6 separate regions of the Homo sapiens genome follow, and all the other regions are linked to region 1. The links are contacts of gene promoters, found by promoter capture Hi-C in human tissues and cell types (Jung and others, 2019). All regions are on one chromosome and are shown on one strand. The core of a region is centred on a gene start or on the middle of the fragment in contact, and the rest is flanking DNA. Distances in the headings are between cores, read along the strand shown. Region 1 holds the start of DMRT3 (doublesex and mab-3 related transcription factor 3). Region 2 overlaps KANK1 (KN motif and ankyrin repeat domains 1). Region 3 overlaps LOC124902109 (a long non-coding RNA gene). Region 4 has its middle 39 kb from the start of DMRT1. Region 5 overlaps LOC105375949 (a long non-coding RNA gene). Region 6 overlaps DMRT1 (doublesex and mab-3 related transcription factor 1).

Region 1 (4,074 bases), core at 618-3,117:
TTTGCCACAGTTCTACTTACAGGAGGGCTCTGGACCTTCCCACTCCTAATTCCAGCATGCCCCCTTCCGGGAGAAGGTGGGCTGTGTTCCTTTGCACATTTGCCCCAGTTAAGGAGAAACACCAAACACATATCCACTGAATTCCAAGAGCCATCAAAAGAGCTCTTGAGCTGGGCAGAACCGCAAGCTAGAAATTCCCCAGGAAGAGAGAGACTAAGAGACTCAACTCAGGCCTGCCAAGCTCAGGAGGCCTGGATGGAAACGGATGGGTGGTGGGGGATCAGATTTTTTGTATTCCTTTAAACCACGAAGACAGCTGAGGGCAGCCTGGGGAACAGTGTTAAAGGATCTAGGAGGTTCTGCAAAGGAGTGAATTCTGGGCGCATCAGATTCTTTTCCCGCTATCAGCTCACAAGCCTTTCCGGACCCTTTTACTATCATTGCTAAATGGAACTTATTTCACCAGTTACAAGAGTCTGGAGGCCACGGAGCAAAGCTAGAAAGGCCAGGGTTCTGAGAGTTGGATACTTGTCCTCACTCAAATTTTCCTGGGCCCTGGGCAGGGCCGGGCCGGCCGAGAAGCACAGCCAGCTCGACTCAGCCGAGTGTTGGCCTTGGCTCCTTCCCTACACCTACCTACCCATTCCAACCCCCAAATGGCAAGGACCTCTAAAGCCTGCAGCCAGGAAAATCCGACCCCACCGTAGTGAGTGTGCGCACGTGGGTTTTAATTTTGTCCTGTCTCAACTCCGTTGTCTCCCTGCTCAATCTGACACGTTCCGAACCCTTCAACCTGGGAAGGCACCTGGCGATACTGACGCACAGTCCCGTCGTTTGGCTGCCCGGAGGCGCCTTCCCTGCGGGCGCGAGTGCCACTCGCGCTGGGTCCAGACTCAGCCGGCTTCTCCCGGGAGAGGAAGCCCCGGCCTGGCGGAGAGTAGGAAGGAAAGCCCCGACAGGCCCACGTCCCAAAACTTTGCCTCCAGTCCTCCCAAGTGGAGCTGCAGCTGGCACTCCGAAGTTGCCCCCGCGCCCGGCCAAACTCCCGCACCTCAGACGCTCTTACCTGGCTTGGCGAGCTGCGCCTGCAGAGCCCCGGGCTGCGGCTCGGCAGTCCAACGCAGCGCGGCGGCCGCGGCCAACTCGGCAGCAGGGCGCGGCGGCTGCGGCTGCGACGGCTGAGAGGCTGGCGGCGGCTGCGGGGCGGCGACGGCGTCCCCCGGCGGCGGGGGCCCTGGCAGAGCGCGCAGCGAGTCGGGGATGAGGCTCTCCAAGCTCTCGTTGGCCTGCTGCCGGCGCAGCGCCACCTGCGCAGCCATGACCCGCTGCCGCTCGATGATGAGGATGCACTTCTCGCAGGTGCAGTCCTTGAAGCGGCAGTAACGCTTGTGGCCCTTGAGCCAGGACAGGACGCCATGGTTGCGGCAGCGCGCGCACTTGGGCGTGCGCTGCAGGGGCGCCCGTGGCGGCTGCGACACCGGGCCGCCCATGTACAGGTAGGGGGAGCCGTAGCCGTTCATGCCCCGGGCTCCCGAATGAGTTGGCAGCCTGGCTGCGGGAGAGGGCCAGGGAGCGCTGGACGGCGGGGCTGCGAGGCCCGCTCAGGGGCGGCCTCCGGGCGACGCGGCCCTTGGTCCCGCAGCCCCGGTGGTCGTGTGTGCTCCGGGGCGGCCGGAGGTGCCGCAGTCGTCTCTCCAGCTCCCTTCGCGCTCACAGCTCGGCCTCCCAGCTCACGCCCAGCCAACGCCGACGCGGGCCTCTGCCTTGGGCGCGCAGCCGGGTCGGCACGTCCTCCTTCGCGGAGGCGCTGCGGCGGCTGCAAGGAGCCGGCGACAGCTCTGATTAAGGTCTGAGCCAGCTCTTCTGCAGCTCCCTCGTGAGCCGGCCGGACCCAACACCTCCGCCGCCCTCCCCCAACCCCTCCTCCTTCCCACCGCCACCCCCGCCCCTGGGGTCCCTGTCTCCTTGCACTCCCCGCCCCACGCCTTCCTCCTCCTTTGCGCCCCTCGGGTGCCTGCACTTCACCTTCCTTGCCACCTGCAGCCAGGCCACTCTCGCGGGGGCGCTCGCGGCCCCCTCCTCCAAGCCCTCTCCGCTACCCCAGCCCGCGGCTGGAGACTGCGGCGCTCCAGAACGCGGCGGTGCTCGCGGGGCGGAGAAGGGGAGGACCAGCGGGAGTGAGGGTGGGGGTGCCTGTAAGCGAGTGAGGTGGCCGCTCCGCTTCTCTCTCTTCTCCTCCCTCCAGTCCAGATCTGGCCGCGTTTTTCCGAGCCCAAGGCCGCTTTTATCCCGACATTTGGCCGCAGAAGCTCAGCTCCGGGAGAACTCGAACCTACGGGAGTGTTGCGGTTGCACCCCGGACCTGGGTGGAGTTTAGGATAGGGGAGTGAAGTGATGTTGGTTTAGGAAAGTTAGGCTCTTTTCGTAATTTCCTTTTAGAACGTATTTTTTTCTCTTTTGTTGCTTTAGAAGAAAATGGTTTTGGAGATCTGCCGGCCCAAGGATGACAAGCCATTTTGCAGGCGAATTTTACTTTTCTACCCTCCTGTCCATGTTTTAATATAAAACAGTATCCTGAAAGGTCAGGGACGTACGTGCTCCTGTAAAGGATTTGTTAAGCGCCGGGTATAAACTTTCAAGGGGCAGACACAGAAGCCACATTGGCGCCCCCAAAGTTACCGATATCCTCTTCCCTCGCTCCCAGCAGCTACTGGAAGCAAACGGAGGTCTTGCGCCAGCCACTCAGTTCAAATCCCCACGGATTCTGTGATTCAGTTATGGATATGGGATGGGGCCACTTTTTCACCTCCTTAACCCATAGACCCCAGTCATAGATGTCTTGGGGGAGAGGGTCCTTCACAAGATGACAGCAGAAAACTTTGTTTAGATTATTTGCGTGTTCCCATTCTCCCAGGAGTAGCGGGCTTGGCCTAGTGCAGACTATCGCTATATATGCACAAAGAAGGCCCTCCACCCTCGCACCTCCCCACTGCCCATCAGCAAACAAGCAAAAACCAAAAAACAAACAAACAAACAAAACAAGTGGATACACTGCAGGGCAGCACAATAGCTCTATGCGAAGCGGGGCAGTTCCAGAGCCTTCGGTGGATGCGCTTCTGAGAGCGTGCACCAAGCCCATCTCCTGGTGGGGAATCAAATGCTAGATGAGAGCGTAGGCAAGTCCGCTGCAATGTCCGACCCCTCATGGGCACAGAGGCCCTTGTCCCCTCGGGGAGGCCGCTTTTCTCTGTACTGCCCTGGAAGTAAGCAAGCAACCTGAAAACTTTCCTCTGGTGTTTGCCATGAATTCAAGGGAAGCACCTCCAGGCGTTCTAGCAGCCAACCCTCTGCCCAGAAGGCTGATTTGCGGAGAGGAGGGTTGAAAACCGAACCCCAGTTGTGTGTTTCCCTTGAAGCCCTTAGCTGTTCCCGTTTCATACGCGTCCGGGAGGTGGGGATCGCGGGACACTGACCTGGTAGAGTGTGGACAAGAAGCTCTAGCATTCGAGTGCTAACCCTGGGAGGCCATCCTCCAAAGCCGCGTGGGGTAGGGACCCCTCGGTCTTGCCCCTTCCCCCACCACTTTAATCCTTCCTCTAGTCTCAACCTTCTCTAGGAAAACAAGCCCTAAAATACAACTGGAAGGAATTTTGTAAGCTCTGGGGACGGGAGGCAGAGGTCGCCCCCAGCCCTGTAGGCCCGAGGCTAGGAAATGGGGAGCTGGACGCGAGTCATTTAACGTGCTGCGATATAGAGGGCCTCAAATGACACCTTAACTGAAAACTATTGCGCTGAAACCTCCGGATCTCTTGGAAACGTGGGGACCAACGACTTTTTTCAAAACCAAATTTCTTCCGATTTTCTTCAAACAGTGAAACGAGGAAGTATAAAGAACTTGAGTATGAATAAATTTTTAAAAGGAAAGCAGAAGAGCTCTGCACCAGGTTTGTGGGGGCACTTTCACTACCAAGGCGACCCCTTTTCCCCCGTCGGTCACCTAGCCACCCTATCTCGTTGCCACTCAAACAGTCTGGCATTTGGTCCCGGGGGCCCGTTTCACTCCGGTGCACATCG
Region 2 (4,074 bases), core at 450-2,949, 240 kb after region 1:
GGTGGCTGGAGACCAAGAGTGACTTAGAAGGAAATGTGAGAGATGTTTTCATACTAAACCAAAAACTTTTTTTCCCCCTATTTCACGACACCTGAAGCAAGAGAAACAACGGTAAGCTTCCACAGCGTATCTTGTTTGCAACTGGTGGCTGAAATGCAATGGCTTGGAAGTCAGGGTGGTTGTTCTACTGGTTGCTCTTGAGAATAAACGATTTTTGGAATCTAGGCACTCAGCTGTGTTTAGGAAAGTGAAGCAGGTAGTGAGCTATTCATGAACGAAGTGTTTGCAAACGCTTACGTATGGAACGTTGGACAGGGTGGTACCTACTTATCCAAACATTACTCATTCTGAGACTCTGAATTTACTACTCTGGCCTGTCGGGGGTCCTGAAAAGCAGAATTCCAATCATATAACATCCAGCTCCAGAATTTATGGTCGAGAACAAATGCAGTTAAGTCCCCTTAACAGAATCGATGAACCAGACCTTTTCTATTCTTGTAATTCTTAAGGAGTCTTCAGGGATAAAATTATCCTTCGGGCATTTAAAAGTTCCTTCGGCACTTTCTCTGAAATGACCGGAATGGTGAGTGTTAGAAAGCAGCTTTTATGTGGGACCAAATATGAAGTTAAAATGTTCAGAATGTTTCTATCATAAAGGAAAATAAAAGGTACCATGAACATTTACCTTAAGATCCCAAACAACTCCATACTAAGGACATGTTTTTAAAAGTGGGTGTTTTTAATGCAGAAAATAAAAGGCCCTGTGGAGGAGAAGCAGGTGAATTCGTGTGCGCTTCGGGGCTCCTTAGCACCTCGGACTTTGCGGACTCTGCTCTGCATAGATGCTGAAGCATCCTAGATCTACACCTTATGGAGCCAGAATCTCAGCCTAGAAGGGGGAGCAGTAACCATTAAGATAAGTGATTAACCCAAACCATCCAGCAATGGAATTAAAATTATTTAATTTGCCAAGATGTTTTATCAACTTCTAAGGGTATACTAAGCTGTTCCTGTCAGGAGTGATAGTGAAATCTTGTTTTCAGCTTCCCTGGATATTATCTACTTCTGTTTAAACAATCACTCTGGCTGACTGTATCACCAGCTCTGTTTATAGTCTAGAAAGCCTGAAGAGGAGGGGCTTGAAATTCCTTCCTGTAAGATGGAAGCAGTTATACCCTAACATGGCTCCAAAAAGAGGGAACAAACACACTTATAAGAGAAAGGAAGGATAAATCTGCTTGGCTTTCTTCTCTGCATCAATTCCAAGTTCCCAAAACAGAGCAGAAGAGATTGGACAGTGGATGAAGACAGAATTTCAGAAAATTGGACAGTATGATTGCATATTCTAAGGTTCACACTACATCCTCATTAATCAGACTGAGATACTCTGACTTCTCTGTCACATACTAGAAATAAAAATATGTATTACAAAAATTAAAAGACTTGGGGTCTATGTGGCATCAGGCTGCTCCATTTGAACAAGAAGTTGAAAGCTCACAGTTTCTTGAGGGTACCATCTGTGTATGTGCCCCTCCCTCACTTCATGTCTAAGATGTCCACTGGCTCTATTCTGGGATAACAAGTTTCTACTATTCTATTATGGTTGAGAGACAAGAATAACATGCCCTTTGCTCTATGCTGTTTCCCCAATAACAGTATATTTTGGTGAGAATGGTGATCATTTGACCATCTGTTAAGGTGGCTTTGCTTAGTCCCCATCTTGACTAACCACACACTTCTGCAAGGACAGCAGTCATGGAGTAAGGTCAAATCAAGTGGTCCACACGCACCAAGGCTGTGACCCTGGGCCTGTAAGCAGCACTCTGCCTCCTGAGTGCAAACCGGCCAAGCCCGCATGATTCAGCTCAGGAGGGAACGTGAGACATGCTTCTTACCAGGCATACACCTCTCACTTTTGAATGCAGCTGAACTGCAGCAAGAAGATCCTCAAAACCTCCTTTCAAAAACAGATCTAGAATCTGTGTCACCCAGTTTTGTTTAAACTTCAAGCCTCTTATGAATGACTCAAGAAAATTCTTGCCATGTCATGTGGAAAAGCAATAAAAAGGATTTTAGCATGGTCAGAGAATTCAGGAGTGGCTCAACCAGGTTCTCTGAGATGAGTCACAACCCAAGTACTGTTAGAGAAGAGAGGGTGGAAGGGCAGCCAACATACCGGCATCTAACAGCAGCTTCACAATCTCGAAGTTGGAGTGGGACACGCTGTAATGGAGGGCTGTGTTGCCGTTGCCGTCTGCCAAGTTGATGACATAGCGGAGGACATCTGGGGAAATGGCCTCAAAAGCAGCTATGTAGTCCCCCACCATGGCTGGAATGGCTGACTTCTGACTGGACACGCGGAACCACTCGTGCTGGAGGGTGTTCAGACAGAACCTCTGCCAAAACACCAAGTGGTCGTTAGTTCTTCTATTTATAGACTTTCTGAGACCTAGTTGAAAGCACAAGTAACCTGTCCTTTTATAGTCAAAGTATATATATGCAGTTAGAATCTGCTCTCAAAAACCAACAGCCCTAAGAGAAGCTTCAAACACCAAACTGGGACATTTCTCCTGATTTTAAATGACGTGTAGATTCTAATGTCTATAAAGGAGACCAGACAGCACCATGCAGAAGCAGAGGCTCTGGAGCCAGACCACTGAGTTTCAAATGCAGGCTCTGCTACCTAAAAGCTTTATGACCCGAGGGAAGTTATTCTGCTTCCGTTTCCTCATCTGAAAAACTGGATAATACCATGCTTTCATAGTTTCTGTGATGAGAATAAACACTCAGGCTTGGCTCCATTTATTAAGCTATTAATATGATGTAATCATACTGGCCTTGCAAACAATTTTCATAGAAATTAGGAAGAAATTAACTAGCCTACACTGAATTATGCTGCTTCCTTCCTATCCAGACCAAACTCACCTCCTTCAACTCCTCAGCACAGCACTAGGTTGGGAGACCGTACGTGTATAGCCAACCCAATTCCCACCCCAATCCCAAATACAACTGTTCAACCACGGAAAGGGAAAATAAAAGGGAACCCCGTCTGGAACTAATTTCATTCTCTCATCAGCTCCACTCTGACTTCCTTAGGCTGTGGACACATGAAGAAGGCACTTGCTTTGTGGATGATCAACTCAACCCTGGGTCACATGAAGCTCAGTGGAGACTGAGCAGTCAGTACTGGTGATGAGGATGACTACAGTGTCTTTTCAATGGGCCTTCATATGAGTTTAATATTCATTTCTGCTGTGCTTACTCTTTAAAAGTTTAAAAATATATCAAAGAAAGACAGCCTATGTCAGAAGCACCAGAACCCAAGAAGTCCTCTTTCTGTAGAAAAGGTAGAGTTGGGATTATAGAGCTTCCATCTCTTTATCATCCTGCTACTGATTATTTAGTTTTAACCATTTCAATCACATTTTGGGTCACTTGAAGAGTGTCCTTTTTTTTCTGTATATATTCACATTCCTGTTTCTCTGGAGTTGTCACACTGAAAGAAGGGAAATTATGTCTTCTGGTCATTCTAATTCTATTACTGCTAAATAACTGGTGTCCTGACATGATTATCTAGCCCTGGCATTGTGTTTACTCGTCCACTACTTTTCACAACACAATACTTTAAACACTTTCACACCAAATGAAAATTCAGTTAAAAAGATGTACCCATCACAGTGTGTGTGGATGACACCATGCTCGGCAATTTGGAGGATGCAGGAAAACAGAATCCTTCCCAAAGGCCACGTAACCTAGTATTTTGAGAACAGTGAAAGAAAAGTGTACTATGGCTATAAAATCTGGGGTTGTAAGGCACCAGTTTTAAGTTTAGGTTAAACCTGATGGGAAATACTGACCCTGCAGTGAGATTTTATGGTTTTACTAGTGACCAGGGTATAGCCAGGTATTTTCATGAATACAAATCCAAGAATTTCAATATGTAGTTCTATGTTTCCCCTTGACTAGGAATTTTTTTTTTTTTTGAGAGGGTGTCACTCTGTCTCCCAGGCTGGAGTGCAGTGGCATGATGATGGAGCACTGCAGCCTGAACTTCCTGGGCCTCCAGCTATCTTC
Region 3 (4,074 bases), core at 1,159-3,658, 220 kb after region 1:
CATTTTCTCCACAGCGCCTGGAAACTGTGTTCTTGTTGATTTTCTGGGAGACAGCAAAGCCTCCCTCCTCCTTCCCCTCATCCTCAGGGTGGGAGTGACAGCCTCATCACTTGCATTTTCAAGTAAATCTGGCTTGCAGAAAGCAGCTGTGGATTCTCTTTGGCTTTCTTTCTAGAAGTTTCTGTCTTCCTAGTCAGTGAGTCACATGACTTAAATGTAACAAGGGCATGGTTCTCAGGTGCCTGATGCTTCTGGGCTTTGTAGAGTACTGGCCAAACCCGCCATGGTGGCCATGGTAGGCTGGGGCGTGGGACTCAGGCACGCAGAACACTGCACAGTTGGGTCTTCAAGAGCAAGGGCATCTCCAGAATCAGACTTCTGTGTCCTTAAGCAGGGTCTAGAATGTGTCAGGGAACCAGTTCTGGGCCTGAAGAATTGTTTTTTGTCCTGTTGTTCCTAGATTGTCATAGTCAGAGGAAGAGACTGTCTCACAAGCCCCATGCAGAATTTTGGGACCGTCGATGTTTGTGTAAAGGCAGGTATAACTTGCAGTCTTGCCTTTGGAATACATTTGTCTTCCTAAGTTAATCTGTTACAGGACACCGTATTTGATTTCTTGTCTGGAATTTGAGTCTCTTACCACTAGAAATACGGTGTTGTTTTGGTGAAGAATGCTTTTCTCTCTGCAAGAGTGGCAGTGTGGCGAAGTGATTCAGTGCAGGGACTTGGTGCAGGTCTGCCTGGCTTTCTCACTAATAGCTGTGTGATCTCGGACAAGTTACTTAACCTCTCGATGTTTATGTTGCTTCATCTATAAAAAGGGGATAGTAATGGTGTTCAACTACTTTATAGGTTTCTGGAAAGGAGAAAATAAGGGAACGTGAGCAAACCACTCAGAACAGCGCCTGCTGTGTGGTTAAGTGCTAAGGGTTTGTTATTTTTCACGACTTGGAATTGGAACAGAATATGAAATAAAGGGTGTCAAGGCAAAGCAGGCTTGTCAGTAGCTTGGAGTAGTGGCAAAAGTCTTGGCTTAGAAGGCAGGAGGCCTGCTCTTTCTGATCAGCCTTCCCGCTAAGTAGTGAAGCCAGTCTGAGCTTCACTTTATTTTAAAATGAGGTGGTAGCTGGGTGTGGTGGCTCATGCCTGTAATCCTAGCACTTAGGGAGGCCGAGACAGGAGGATCATTTGAGACCAACCTGGGCAACATGGTGAAACCCCATCTCTACAAAAAATTCGCCAGGCGTGGCAGTGCGCACCTGCAATGCCAGCTACCTGCGAGGCTTTAGGTGGGAGGATCACCTGAGCCCGAGAAGTCCAGGCTGCAGTGAGCCATGATTGCGCCACTGCACTCCAGCCTGGGTGACAGAGTAAGACCTTGTCTCAAATAAAATAAGATGAGGTGGTGATAACAAATGAATGCATAAACAAAAGGCAGAATATACATACAGTGCACTACTATTCAGCTATGAAAAGGAATTAAGTTCTGACATGTGCTACAACATGGATGAACCTTGAGGACATTATGCTAAGAGAAATAAATCAGACACAAAAGGACAACGGTTGCATGATTCCCCTATGTGAGCTATCTAGAATAGGCAAAGGCATAGAGACAGGAAGTGGAACTGAAGCTACCGGGGTTGAGGGAGGGGATATGGACAGTTTTGCTTAATGGTTATGGAGTTTCTTTTATGGGTGATGAAAAAGTTTTGGATCTGGATAGTGGTGCTAGTTACAAAATATTGTAAATACAATTCATGTCACTGAATTATACACTTAAAATAGTAAAGATGGCAAACTTCATATTATGTATGTTTTACTACAATAAAAAATTCGAACATAATTAAAAAGAAGAGTGAAGTAGGCTGATGTTGAAAGAAAAAGTTACTTGCTATAAACGTTGAAACTTTTCTAGACCATGAGGCTACCAGACAAAAAAGTGACTAGCCTGGGCAACATAGTGAGATCCTGCCTCAACATTAGCCTAGTGTGGTAGAGTGCGCCTGTGGTCCCAGCCACTTGGGAAGGCTTAAGTGGGAGGATCGCTTGAGCCCAGGAGGTTGAGGCTGCAGTGAGCCGTGATTGCACAACTGCACTCCAGCCTGCGTGATAGTGAGTCCCTGTCTTAAGGAGAAACCAAAAAACCCCAAACACATCTTATTTTGTGACTGAGATGATACACAAACACACACACACACACACACACACAAAGCTTCATGAAATGATGTTACCATCAATATATCTGATACAATCAAGATTTCAGATTTATTCAACTTTTAAAAATGCTTGTAGTTACATTAATTTTGTAACCCATTATGTCCTGTTTTAAAAACATTGTTGGCCAGGCACGGTGGCTCATGCCTGTAATCTCAGCACTTTGGAAGGCTGAGGCAGGTGGATCACCTGAGGTCAGGAGTTCGAGACCTGCCTGGCCAACATGGTGTGAAACCCGGTCTCTACTAAAAATAGAAAATTAGCCAATGTGGTAGTGCCTGCCTGTGATCCCAGCTACTTGGGAGGCAGAGGCAGGAGAATCGCTTGAACCTGGGAGGTAGAGGTTGCAATGAGCTGAAATCGTTCCACTGCACTCCACCCTGGGTGACAGAGGGAGACTCTGTCTCAAAATAAATAAATAAATAAAATTAAACGTTGTTGGGAGACTGGCTCATGCTTGGATATGTCTCCCACTGGCCACTAGGGAGAGCTGATAGGTCAGGCTGAGGAGTGAAGGGAACTGGTGGGGTTGCAGGTAGTAGTAGCCTCTGTGCTGGCTGGGACCCTTCTCAGCTAACCTCTCGCACTCCTTACCAAGGCCTTTCACAGGGGGCGGGCGGTGCCCATTTGGAGTTGAGTTGAACGAGTGTCTGTTTATTTGAAGAAACCTTCCCTGCCTCATTCCCGCCTGGGGGAGCCCATTTAAATGTGTGCTAGTTGTTGGATTTTTGGCTCAGCACTTTGGACCCTCTTCCTCCTGGAGAAGCACAGAACATGTCTCTTTCCTGTTGGCATAACGGCCCCCTTCAGATGTGTTACTGACAGCCTTAAGACTTGCCATGAACGGGCACGATGGCTCACGCCTGTAATCCTAGCACTTTGGGAGGCCGAGGCAGGCAGATCACGAGGTCAGGAGTTGGAGACCAGTCTGGCCAACATAGTGAGACCCTGTCTCTACTAAAAATACAAAAAATTAGCCAGGTGTGGTGGTGTGCGCCTGTAATCCCAACTACTTGGGAGGCTGAGGCAGGAGAATTGCTTGAACTCGGGAGGCGTAGCGTGCAGTGAGCCAAGATCGCACCACTGCACTCCAGCCTGGTGATGGAGTGAGACTCCCTCTCAAAAAAAAAGAAAAAGATTTGCCACGAACAACCTGCAAAATTCACCTCACTGGACAGGTTCTGAACCCTACTGTGTGTCAGGCGCCCTCCTCTCAACCTCAGCAAATGAGGCTGGTTCTGCCTGCCATTTTGGTTGTCAGGAAAATGGCATCCCTAGAAGGGAGTTGAAGCTCAGCAGGGAAGCAGCACAGAGAAGCAGCCATGCATGGGGTTGGAAGTCAGCTCCAATGGGGACTGCCTTGCCTGCCCTGGGCTCTCTCTGAAGCAGGTGTGACAAGTCACCTATGTTGGCCGGGTGCGGTGGCTCATGCCTGTAATCCCAGCACTTTGGGAGGCTGAGGCGGGTGGATCACCTGAGGTCAGGAGTTTGAAACCAGCCTGGCCAACATGGCAAAAATCCCTCTCTACTAAAAATACAAAAAAAAAATTAGCTGGGAGTGGTGGTGGGTGCCTGTAATCCCAGCTACTTGGAAGGCTGAGGCAAGAGAATCGCTTAAACCTGGGAGTCGGAGGTTGCAGGGAGTGGAGATCTCGCCACTGCACTCCAGTCTTCTGGGCGACAGAGTGGGACTCCTTCTCCAAAAAAAAAAAAAAAAAAAAAAAAAAAAAAAAAAAAAAAAAAAAGTCACCTATCTTAGCTCCAGGATCTCTTCTGTTTTTGCAGGGAGAAGCCAGAGGTTGTCAGGCATTTCAGCCTCCCTCCATGAGCAGAAGGAGGATCAGACCACTGGCTCATTAA
Region 4 (4,074 bases), core at 406-2,905, 170 kb after region 1:
CCTCATGAGGGCATGATGTTGAGCCACACTTGACTTGAATTGCTAGGAAGGATGTAGCATGTGAAGAGAGGGAGAAGGGCATTCCAGGCAGAGGGAAGAGCTGTGCAGAGATCCCAGGGTGCAAACAAGCTGGGTGTGTATGAGGCACCAAAAGAGGTCCTGAGTAGCTGGAGCACAGCAAGAGACCAGGAGAGAGGGAGGAGATGTGGTCAGAGAGCTGGACAGAGGGCTGAATCATGCAGGCCTGGACAAAGGTGTGGGACTTTATTATAACTGTTAATCATTGTATATGAGTTTGTAAGAACACATTTATCCTTCTGCCTTTTTCTCTTTGACATTATTAATACACTTTCTCCATGTCATTACATAGAGCTCAAAGCCATCATTTAAAATCAATACATACAATTCCATCAAGTGGATAATAATTTACTTAACCATTTTCCCCGTGAAAAGCATGTCCTCTTAACAAATATCCCTGAGTGGCAATATGTAGGCCAGGCACAGTGGCTCACGCCTGTAATTCCAGCACTTTGGGAGGCTGAGGCAGGCAGATCATCTGAGGTCAGGAGTTCAAGACCAGCCTGGCCAACCTGGTGAAACCCCATCTCTACTAAAAATACAAAAAAAATAGCCAGGCGTGGTGGCGGTTGCCTGTAGTCCCAGCTACTCAGGAGGTTGAGGCATAAGAATCTCTTGAACCTGGGAGGTGGAGATTGCAGTGAGCCGAGATCACACCACTGCACTTCCAGCCTTGGTGACAGAGCGAGGCTCCGTCTCAAAAAAGCAAAAACAAAAATCAAAAACAACAACAACAAAGCAAAATAAGGAAATAGTTTGGACACAGACATGCGCACAGGGAGAACACATGAAGATGAAAGCAAAGATGAGGGTGATGCTTCTGCAAGCCAAGGAACAGCAAAGAGTGCCAGCAGACATCAGAACCCAGGAGAGTGGCCCGGAATAGATCCTTTCCTTACATCTCACAAGGAACCAACCCTGCTGACACCTTCATCTTGGACTTCTAGCCTCTGGAACTGTGAGACAGCAAGTTTCTGTTGTGTAAGCCACCCAGTTTGTACGAAACCCTAGCAAGCTAATATAATATCTGTGCCTGCTAGATAGCTAATGAATTAGAGAGTCCAAAAATATGTGACTGTGTCTTGGAAAATATAGAAGAAATAAAGCCCATCAATAGGTGATATTCATCTGAAGCCAATTTGTGGCTGTGGGCTTGAGTGCCACAAATTGCCAAACTACAAATTACAAAGATTTCACAAAATTCAAATTAAAGCCCATGTGGTTTCTGGAGACTCTGAATGGTCTGGCTTTGCCCAACTATGGTGTGTTATCGACAAATTATGCTACCCCATATTAATGCTGTTGGAGGGAGGAGCTAGGAACTGAATGTAAGCATCTTGATAAATTCTTTGTATTTTGCGCAGGTTTTCATGTTTTTCTTTGATTTCTAGGTGGTATAATACATGGCAGTTATTTTACATTTTGTTCCTTTTCTTTTTTGAGAGCTATACCTTTGTATAGGGGAAAAGTCACGTTCCTGTTCAATTTTAAATTCTTCTCTTCTAAGTTGTGATTTCCTTTAGCTGTCTCCAGCCCATCAGGTCTAATATTCATGCATAACAGTGTGCAGTGATGTTATGGAGGAAGATGACGAGTGGACACAGTGGGGACAGTCTCCAGCCTCCCGGCTCACTCACACCAAGGGGAGGAAAGCATTTTCTGAAGGAGCAGTGGCCAAGCCGTCTGATGGGCGATAGAGCCACCCTTCCCTTCCCAAAGCGCTACAAGAAGGGGGCCTTTTGGGGCGACTCACACTTGGTTTAGATGACAAAATCTCTCTTCTGAGGACTCAGCAGTGAAAGTACACAGTCTCAGCACAAAATCCAGTACAGTATAACCTTTTAAAGCCTTTGTCCTATTAAAGGCTATTTACCTGAGTTGGCAGGTAAAATTATGGCCTGAGGATAAAAACATGTAGGGCAGCAAATGAAAGAATTAGTGCACTGTTAAAATGCGATTTGGCATTCAAGCAGAGAAATCTTTACCTGTTGGGGCTGTCGAGGGCACCTTCAAAGGTCTTGGGCCAAGGACGCTGACAGGGCCAGAGAGGAGCACATTTGTCCCCACATTTCAGCAAGAGCCCTTTCCCACACTCACCTCCCAGTTCTGCTCTGGCAAGAAGTGTACAGGAAGGGGTGGATTCATTGTGGGCACTGCATTTAAAGTCCCCTCTTGCCAATCCCCTCACCGTTACGATGCATTTATTTTTCTTGTTTGGCTCTGATAATGATTCTGATTATCAGGTGACCTGGGGTTTGGGCCACTGGGATGCCTTTGCTTTTTAAAGTGCAAGAAAACGGGCAAGAATTACAAAAAGGCAAGTCAGAACCAAGGCATTTCAAAAACAACTTTATCGCTCTGCCGCCAATGGCCTTTGGAGGGGGAAACGTAATTGAATCACTGACTTTGAATACTGAGCCGCTTTGCATGACTCATTAAACTGCCATTTCCAACACTTTTGGCTCGTGCTGTAAGAATGATAGAATCCTATAACAATCTATATGTTTAAATTCTTTTCTATTTGAAAGCGCCTTGTGGTACAAGTGCCTTCAGATGTGAGCACAGACATCAGTTGAAATACAAGACAGTCGTAATAGAGCTAAATTTGATAAGCCACACAAGCATGACTCAGGCAACCCAGCCTCTTAAATCAGGATGCACAATTAATTGCTACTCTTTTATTTATTATCTTTAATCCCTCATTGGATACAGTTGACTTGCTACTTCCTGGGATGAGGCCACAGCATAAGCAGGGATGAATAATTTTTAAATTATGAAGCAATTTCTTTGTTACAAACCTGGGCTCAGATGTAAATTCTAATCATTTCCTTTTCCCAGGACAGTGCCCTCTGAACTCAAAAGGGCGTTCATCCTTTTCCTCCTTCTACCCGTAGCGGGCAGCAAGCCAGGCATGTCTAGTTCTTAGAGGTCATTGTTGTTTTTCTTGCCCTCACTAAGGAATTGGCATATTCCCCCGAGACTCCTTTTTGACACCCTAAAGGCTCATTTAAACCCTATCTGATATTACAAATAATAAAACTCTCCTGGGTGAACTAGCTCTTTCTCCAACCCTCTTCCACCCTGCCTCTCACTTGGCTTCTTCATTCATGTTCATTTTTTGTTGTTGTTTTTTTGAGATGGAGTCTCACTCCATCACTCAGGCTAGAATGCAGTGGCGAGATCTGAGCTCACTGCGACCTCCACCTCCCGAGTTCAAGTGATTCTCCTGCCTCAGCTTCCAAAGTATCTGGGATTATAGGTGCGCGCCATTATGCCCAGCTAATTTTTGTATTTTAGTAGAGAGGCGGGTTTCACCATGTTGGTTATGCTGATCTCAAACTCGTGACCTCAAGTGATCCGCCCTCCTTGGCCTCCCAACATTCATGTTTATTTTAGCAAGTTTTGTACCTCTTAGGAAATAAGGTTTTTCTTACTTTGAGCTGTCAGTGGTTTTGAGCTGAGCCAGAATGAATAACTCAACCGAATGAATTAACAGGCTTTGATTTCAGGAGCATCAGGAAGCCATTTTCCTTCCTGCTTATTCCACAGCTTCCTCCATTGTCTTGGTGTTGCCCAAAATGCCACTCTTAGGAATTTCATCCTTTGTTTCCTGGTAAAACGTACATTCTTGTGGCAAGCATAATGCTTTATGCCTTTTTACAGTTGAGCTTGAGTTCACAGAATCCCGTGCTGAGAGGAGGCCATGTAAGGGGGAGGAGAGGAGGGAAGTGAAGAGTGGGACAGTTGTGATGGGAGAAGGGCCACACGTCTGGAGATACCCAGAGAGCAGGAAACTGCATTGAGGGAGCACTGATGTGGAAGAAAAGCATTACCATGGAGGGTGCAGCACAATCGTCCCTCGGTCTCCACGGGGGATGGGTTCCAGGACCCCTTTCTTTTTTTTTTTTTTGAGGTGGAGTATCACTCTGTCGCCCAGGCTGGAGTGCTGCAGCGTGATCTCAGCTCCCTGAAACCTCCACCTCCCAGGTTCAAGTG
Region 5 (4,074 bases), core at 928-3,427, 150 kb after region 1:
TGTTTGGCTGAACTTGATGGAAAGGGGTGGTAGGTGGGGGAAGGAATGACTAAAGATAATAGCGATCATTAACAAAATCCACATATTGCTTTCTATATGCCTAACACTGTTATAAGTGCTTTGTGTATTCATTTTTATTTTTATTTTATTTTTTTGAGATAGAGTCTTGCTCTGTTGCTCAGGCAGGAATGCAGTGGTGCCATCACAACTCACTGCAGCCTCAACCTCCCAGGCTCAAGTGATCCTCCCACCTCAGCCTCCTGAGTAGCTGGGTCTATAGGTATGTGCCACCATGCCTGACTAATTTTTTTTTTTTCTGTAGAGATGGGGTCTCCCTATGTTGCCCAGGCTGGTCTTGAACTCTGATTCAAATGATTCTCCTGCCCTTGCCTCCCAAAGTGCTGGGATTAGGGGCATGAGCCACTGTACCAGGCCTGTATATTAATTTATTTACTTATGTGGCCTATATATTAATTTATTTAGTTATCACAACAGCCATTGACAGAAGTCATGTCATTATCCCCACTTTAGACTTGTGGAATCTGGGGTGTACAGAGGCTGACTGATTTGCCCAATCTGAAAAAAGGGGAAGAGCAGTCGGACCCAGGTTCACTTGTTTTGTTTTGTTTTTAAGAAACTGTCTTGTTCTGTTGTCCAAGCTTGAGTGCAGTGGTGTGCATGTGCCACCATGCATGGCTAATTTTCTTTCAATTTTCTATTTTTTGTAGAGACAAGGTATTGCTAGATTGCCCAGGCTGGTCTAGAACTCCTGGCCTCAAGCAATCCTCCCACCTCTGGCCTCCCAAATGTGAACCTAGGACAGATTCACACTTTTAACCACATCCTAGGAAGGTCCCATTGCTTATCTCTTGTTCCTCAGATGGTGGCAGTGGGAACAAGTGGGTAGTGGGAAGGGAGAAGAGGGATATTTCTTAGGTCCTGGGATGATCTTAGACAATTGTGTGAACGGTGACAACAACTGAGTGTGGGTGATCTACACTGAGCACTCTTGAAGCCACAGCAAACGAAACAAAGGGGCAGGTAAGTAATTGTTAAGTGTGGTGCAGACCAGTTCTAAATGCTATAGAAAAATCAGGAGAGAAGTGCAAGATTTCTGTTCATAGAGGAGTTATTACTGGTGTCAAAGGAACTGTCTTTTGGATACAGGAAACAAGGGGCTGTAATTAGCTGGGTGTGGTGGTGCACACCTGTAGTCCCAGCTACAGGGAGGCTGAAGGAGGAAGATCACTTGAGCCCAGGAGTTTGAGGTTATAGTGAGCTATGATTGTGCCACTGCACTCCAGCCTGGGTGTCAGAGTGAGCCCCTCTCTCAAAACAAAACAACAAGATGTGTGACGCCTACGAAAGTCTTTCCCATCTTTTCTATTTGGCTTGGTTCCTATCTGTATCCCCAGCACCAAGACCAAAACCTGTTATCCCTAAGGGGCTCATTAAATTTATTTATTTATTATTATTATTTTTTTAGACAGCGTCTTGCTCTGTCACCTAGGCCAGAGCTCAGTGGCACAATCTCGGCTCACCGCAACCTCTGCCTCCTGGTTCAAGTGATTCTCCTGCCTCAGCCTCCTGAGTAGCTGGGATTACAGGCACGCACAACCATGCTCAGCTAATTTTTGTATTTTTAGTAGAGATGGGGTTTCACCCTGTTGGCCAGGCTGGTCTTGAACTCCTGACCTCAGATGATCTGTCTGCCTCGGCCTCCGTAAGTGTTGGGATTACAGGCGTGAGCCACTGCACCTGGCCGGTTTTACATTTTCTGAGATTTCTTGCAGAGTTACTGTGTGCATACACAAGTAAAAACATATATATGTGTGTTACTTTCCACTTCCTCTCCACATTTTTTATACACATGGTGGCATAGTATACATACTGTTCTGTATGTGGCTTTTGTTCACTGTGTATATCAAGATTATTCCCTATCAGTCCAGAAGGATCTTTTTCAACCTATTTGACCGCTGAATCCACTGCATGGATGTGCCACACTTTATCCAGTCCTTTACATTGGTCTTGTAGGTCTTGTTCTTCCTTGGCTCTTGGAAACAGTATTGCAATGAGGAATGTGAGGATGATGAATGAGGAGATTTTGGGCTAGGGAAGTATAATGATTTAAAATCATCACTCTTTTTGACTAACCAGAAGTCACCACCACTCATGGGTGTGAAACCACCCACTGTCAGAATCTGATAGCCCAAAAAGTGGACCAGTCTAATGAAAGGAAGACAGTGGGCTTTGGGGCCAGGCAAACTTGAATTCCCATCTTTGTTCTACTCCTTATGACTTGAATTCCCTTGGAAAACCTATCAAATTCCTTTTTAGTTTTTCTCATCTAAATAGGGGATGGTAGTGCTCCTAGACTATGAGGATTAAATTAAATAAGACAATGAATATTAATAGATTGCTTAGGTACATGGTACATAGAAGGGAATTTATTCCTGCCATCATCTCATTGTGCTGTTGTGTCGTAGCCCTCAGAATTCTCTTTCTCATTCTTCTCTTTCTCATTCTTCTCTTTCTTATTCTTCTCTTTCTTATTTTTCTCTTTCTTATTCTTCTCTCTGCCCCTTTATTCCACTTACCTTGACAAGAGCAATTGAATAATCTGGAGGGCTATGGCATGGATAAAACTTGAAGACATTACGCTAAGTGGAAAAAGCCAGTCACAAAAACCCACATATTATATGAGTCCACTAATACAAAATGTGCAGAAAAGGCAAATCTATAGATTGATGGTTTCGTAGGGTTAGGGGTTGAGGGGAAATGGGGAGTGACCACTAATGAGTACAGGGTTCCTTTTTGAGGTGGTGAGAGTGTTTGAAAATTGACATGGTTGCATAACACTCAGTATACTAAAACTCATTGAATTGTACATTTTGAATGGGTAAATTTTAAGACATGTGAATTAAAACTCAGTAAAGTGCTAGGCCAGGCACGGTGGGTCACGCCTGTAATCCCAGCACTTTGGGAGGCCGAGGCAGGCAGATCACGAGGTCAGGAGATCAAGACCATCCTGGCTAACAAGGTGAAACCCCGTCTCTACTAAAAATACAAAAAATTAGCCGGGCGTGGTGGCGGGCACCTGGAGTGCCAGCTACTCGGGAGGCTGAGGCCGGAGAATGGTGTGAACCCGGGAGGCAGAGCTTGCAGTGAGCCGAGATCGCACCACTGCACTCCAGCTTGGGCGACAGTGCAAGACTCCATCTAAAAAAACAAAAACAAACAAACAAACAAACAAAAACAACTCAGTAAAGTGCTTATAAAAAGTGCTCCAGGCCAGGTGCAGTGGTTCACACCTATAATCCCAGCACTTTGGGAGGCCGAGACAGGAGGATCTCTTGAACCTAGGAGTTCAAGACCAGTCTGTGCAACATAGGAAGACCCCATCTCTACAAAAAGTTTAAAAATTAGCTGGCCTGGTGTCACATGCCTGTAGTCCCAGGTACTTGGGGGCTGAGGTGGGAGGATTGCTTGAGCCCTGGAGGTCGAGGCTGCAGTGAGCTGTGATCATGCCACTGCACTCCAGCCTGGGCAACATAGCAAGGTCCTGTCTCAAAAAACAAAAACAAAAACAAACAAACAAACAAAAAACTCCGGCAGGAAGGTAGAGGAGAAAGAAAGGAGAGGATTGTGGAGCAGCACAGAGACAAGACTGCACACAAGGTACAGGTCTCAGACAGCACTGGGCATCAGAGGGCCTAAACTTTAGTCCTGGCTCTGCCTCCAGCTGACTTTGTGACCTTGGAAAAGCTCTTTCACTTCTCTGTACTTTGTTTGCCTCATTTAAAACTGAAATGAAATGATGACCTAGGGTCTCTTTCCTGACTAAAAGTCTACAATTTGCCCCCTGCCTCAGGCTGGGGGAGGAGAGGCAGGGGGAAGCCAGAGATAGGAGGAGAGCAGAGATCCTTGCAGGGCCTTTCCCTCCTCTCTGCCCTGCCTGCACCCTGCCCTCCCCTTGAACCCTAGGCCTTTGTTCAGCTTCCCCCAACCCTGGAAGTCATGCATGCAGGGGAGAGTATGAGAGGGTTGGGTCAGGTGCGGGTCATGAGGAGGCTG
Region 6 (3,890 bases), core at 1-2,500, 130 kb after region 1:
TTTTGACAAGCAGCTCGGCCGCACTGGGCAGTGGGATGGGGTGGCTGATACCCAATTCCTCCTCCTGGGCCTGCTGCCTTCTCAGGGCCACCTGGAAGCACACGACAATGAGTCATCCTCCAGCACTCCAGAATCAGCTTTGCCAAAACACAGAAGCCCCACCCATCCCAGACACCATGATTCACTAGCTCTGGAGGTGAGGTCTGAAAATCTCCCATTTCTTCTTAAACCCACCCAGGTAACTATGATGTGCAAAGCTGAGAAACAGTTTTGAGCCAGACAGTAGGTGCTCAAAAAATGCTTGTTGCCAGACATGGTCGCAGATACCTGGAATCCCAGCTACTCAAGAGCTTGAGGCAGGAGACTCACTTAAGCCCAGGAGTTTGAGGCTACGGTGGGCTATAATCGCACCACTGCACTCCAGCCTGGGAGACAGAGCAAGACCCTGTCTCTTAACAAACAAATAAAAAAGCTTGTTAAACAAATGACTGTGTAGAATAAGATTGGCTAGGGAGGATCAGGAAAAAACTATAGTCAGCCAAGGGGAGGAGTACAATCTGAAGAGTAGAGTGGGTCAGAAGCACTAACAGATTAGGAAGGAAAATGGGATCACTCACTCCTTCATTCCATAAACTTGTAAAAGGCCACTGTACTAAAAACAGGTACCAGTAAGAGTAGATTGTATCCTACATTACTTACTGTTTAACAAATGAAACAGGGCCAGGAGTGGTGGTTCGCACCTGTAATCCCAGCACTTTGGGAGGCAGAGGTGGGCCGATCACCGGAGGTCAGGAGTTCGAGATCGGCCTGGCCAACATGGTGAAACCCCATCTCCACTAAAAAAAATACAAAAATTAGCCAGGCATGTTAGCCCACCTGTAGTCCCAGCTACTCGGGAGGCTGAGGCAGGGGAATTGCTTGAACCCAGGAGGCAGAGGTTGCAGTGAGCCGAGATCGCGACACTGCACTCCAGCCTGGGCGACAAAACAAGACTATGTCTCCAAAAAAAAAAAAAAAAAGGCAAAAACAGGAGGCAAACATGCAACTACAACAAAAGGCAAACTGAGACCAACACCACAAGAGTGGTACACAGAAGTACCTTTCACTCCTACAGAAGAAAGTCAGAGAGAGAAATGTCTTTCACATGTTAAAATCAGCCAGCAGTAGTATTTGGACAGAGCCTTGAAGAATAGGATGAGGAGGACTTGGACAGGCAAGGATGAAGGGGCAGTACATATCGGAATAATATGGAACAGGGTGGGCAGGAAAGGCAGGCAGGGTCTGCTTAGGAAAGCCTGCAGAGCCCTGATTCCTGGGGTGGAGGGAGCATGCGGGAGAAGCAGTGGGGAAAGGGGCTGGAATTTGGTGTTGAAGTCCCTGAAGGAAGAAGAGGCTGAAGGCAGGGAGGAAGGGAGAAGACAGGTGTGTGATATTCCAGACAGACAGGAAGAAGAGAGCCAGAACTGGGGACTGGAAAGGACCTGACATACCCAAGAAGCTCTTCATGGTCCCTCTTCAATAACACCGTTAAAGATTGAAAAAAGGCCAGGCGGGGTTGCTCACACCTGTAATCCCATCACTTTGCGATGCTGAGGCAGGTGTATCACCTGAGGTCAGGAGCTCGAGACCAGCCTGACCAATATGGTGAAACCCCATCTCTACTAAAAATACAAAAACTAGCCAGGCATGGTGGTGTGCGCCTGTAATCCCAGGTACTCAGGAGGCCGAGAGGAGAATTACTTGAAGCCAGGAGGTGGAGGTTGCAGTGAGCCGAAATCGAGCCACTGCACTCCAGCCTGGGCAATGGAGCAAGACTCCGTCTCAAAAAAATAAATAAATAAATAATAAGATTGAAAAAACAGGTTTAAAGAAAATTAATTGTATTTTTGCTTTCTACATGTAACAAAGACTTTCTGTTGAAACTAAGGTATGGTGCTTATGAAATGACAGTGAAGCACCCACACCGCAGAGCTGCCCAAATATAAGCCAAAGGTGAAATCAAAACGTTCAATTAAAAAACACAACTACAGGCCGGGCGCAGTGGCTCACGCCTGTAATCCCAGCACTCTGGGAAGCCGAGGCGGGTGGATCACCTGAGGTCAGGAGTTTGAGACCAGCCTGGCCAATATGGTGAAATCCCGTCTCTAACTAAAAATACAAAAATTAACCGGGTGTGGTGGCGTGTGCCTGTAGTCCCAGCTACTCGGGAGGCCGAGGCAGAAGAATCGCTTGAACCCAGGAGGCGGAGGTTGCCGTGAGCTGAAATCATGCCACTGCACTACAGCCTGGGGGACAGAGCGAGACTCCTGTCTCAAAAAAAAAAAAAAAAAAGAAAGAAAGAAAGAAAAACAACTACAATTTATATGTTGTTTTAGGAAAACCACAGTCCAAACACAGGAAGCTGATTAATTGGGAAGTAATTTTCCTCATAGCCAAAAAAAAGTCTTCGACTTAGAAAAATTCATCTTAAATAATTAATTACTTAAAATTAAATAATTAAGCTTAAATCTTGGATTTCCTATTACTAACCAAGAGGCTTAGAAAGAGAACATCAATGAATCTGGCCAGAAACAAGTTTTAAACCCCTGCAAACCTCTGAAGCACATCCAAAATGCACAGGTATCTACTCCATATGCTAAGGACCTTCTCTCAAGGTTTCTTAGAAAATATTATATAAAAAGGAAAGGGGATAACAATTGATTAAAAATGCAACTATACAATTATTTTAGAATCATACGTAAGATCAATTTCAAACTATTTAAAAATGACTAGAAGTAGTTGTTTTATGGATTTTTAAGGATTCATCTGGCACAGTACACACCTTCTGGTGTAGAAAATACTGAAGTTTCCCATTCTAAGTGACCTTGAGTTGCTTTTGTTTTTAACGGTGTAAGCAGCCTCCTCTACTAATAAAGGTTATTCAAAATTAATTCCTCTACTAGAATATTTTTACTACATTTTGAGAAATCCCCCAAGCATGTTCTCCACACTAAATAAGCCAACGACTAAATGTTTAGAGAATTTTTCTGCCCAGAGTATAATTTAAAAGTCCATTAATTTTTTTCAGTAAACTCATTGTGATGCATTTTACTGCCACACCCAGTGTATTCTTTTCACCCACTACAGATTAAGCTTTAAAAATCTATTAAGAAATTAAGCAAAACAATATCTATTTTCATGACTGCACTCGCCATCTGTGAAGCCAAAATACGTTTAGTATAAAACACATTTGTAAAAATCTGATATATTATATAAAAGCATATAACCTTCGGGCATTTGTTTTCAATGGAGGATATTTACACGTTCCTAATCAAAAGTAGCACATCGTTAGCAAACATTTCTTCGTTATCTTTTCATTTTAAATAACCTGTCTTAAAAAGATGAAACAACTTTTAACTGGAAATAACGTGGATTACTGCCTTCCAAAAATCCTTTTAGAATACTAAAGACATTAACTTTCCGTTAAAATGTTAAATTACCAGCCTACTTACGAACCTTCAAAAAAACAAAACCACAGACGGACCAAATCTCAAACCCTGGCGCGCTTTTTTCCACCTGCGCATATTCTTTAAAATTCTTAAGCGTGCTTTAAAACATCTTCAAAGTAATTTGCACTTTAATCTTCGGTCGAGAATGCAAATTTTAAAATGCTAATAAAATTTCCAGAGCTCTCAAAATGGCTGAGGCGCTCAGCCTCCATCCACGGAGGGCGAAGACAAAAAGCGCCCCAGGCGCGCAGGGAAACCGCGCAACGCTGTGTCCATTGCAGCGACTTTTCCAGAAAAACAAACAAGGCTTTCCGACAGGTTACCCGCGTAAGCAGCAGCCGGCCGAGCCTCCCTTTCCCGCTAACCTAGCAGCCAGCGCTGCCGCCCTCCAAGATCCTTTCT

The links. The method cuts DNA at HindIII sites, captures the fragments that hold promoters and counts their contacts. A contact is called where the count stands out against the background at its distance.
Region 2: a fragment that was not itself captured here is called in contact with the fragment with the promoter of DMRT3 in region 1 in 2 of the 25 tissues and cell types used here (H1 embryonic stem cells and lymphoblastoid cells).
Region 3: a contact is called between a fragment that was not itself captured here and the fragment with the promoter of DMRT3 in region 1, in 2 of the 25 tissues and cell types used here (adrenal gland and heart left ventricle).
Region 4: a fragment that was not itself captured here is called in contact with the fragment with the promoter of DMRT3 in region 1 in 3 of the 25 tissues and cell types used here (H1 embryonic stem cells, IMR-90 fibroblasts and lymphoblastoid cells).
Region 5: a contact is called between a fragment that was not itself captured here and the fragment with the promoter of DMRT3 in region 1, in 3 of the 25 tissues and cell types used here (lymphoblastoid cells, mesendoderm cells and thymus).
Region 6: a contact is called between a fragment that was not itself captured here and the fragment with the promoter of DMRT3 in region 1, in 5 of the 25 tissues and cell types used here (H1 embryonic stem cells, heart left ventricle, liver and 2 more).

Annotation. Positions count from the first base shown.
Region 1 is chr9:974,448-978,521 of GRCh38, reverse strand. It overlaps DMRT3 (doublesex and mab-3 related transcription factor 3), which reads right to left and starts at 1,867. Exons shown (of 2, transcript NM_021240.4): 1 at 1,067-1,867. The coding sequence starts at 1,520. RefSeq lists enhancers at 1,700-2,199, 2,200-2,701, 3,234-4,074. The HindIII fragment of the contact is 20,406 bases long and covers 1-4,074 here.
Region 2 is chr9:736,607-740,680 of GRCh38, reverse strand. It overlaps KANK1 (KN motif and ankyrin repeat domains 1), which reads right to left. Exons shown (of 12, transcript NM_015158.5): 8 at 2,177-2,396. Among named protein-coding and RNA genes, the nearest start is that of KANK1-AS1, 53 kb to the right of the region's middle. RefSeq lists an enhancer at 1,593-2,792. The HindIII fragment of the contact is 5,158 bases long and covers 1-4,074 here.
Region 3 is chr9:756,356-760,429 of GRCh38, reverse strand. The region is part of intron 1 of LOC124902109 (a long non-coding RNA gene); the gene reads left to right. Among named protein-coding and RNA genes, the nearest start is that of KANK1-AS1, 73 kb to the right of the region's middle. The HindIII fragment of the contact is 4,502 bases long and covers 158-4,074 here.
Region 4 is chr9:800,355-804,428 of GRCh38, reverse strand. No RefSeq gene overlaps it. Among named protein-coding and RNA genes, the nearest start is that of DMRT1, 39 kb to the left of the region's middle. The HindIII fragment of the contact is 5,888 bases long and covers 1-4,074 here.
Region 5 is chr9:820,347-824,420 of GRCh38, reverse strand. All of the region lies in intron 1 of LOC105375949 (a long non-coding RNA gene), which reads left to right. Among named protein-coding and RNA genes, the nearest start is that of DMRT1, 19 kb to the left of the region's middle. The HindIII fragment of the contact is 7,652 bases long and covers 1-4,074 here.
Region 6 is chr9:843,161-847,050 of GRCh38, reverse strand. DMRT1 (doublesex and mab-3 related transcription factor 1) reads right to left here. Exons shown (of 5, transcript NM_021951.3): 2 at 1-91. Among named protein-coding and RNA genes, the nearest start is that of DMRT1, 3.4 kb to the right of the region's middle. The HindIII fragment of the contact is 3,134 bases long and covers 1-2,817 here.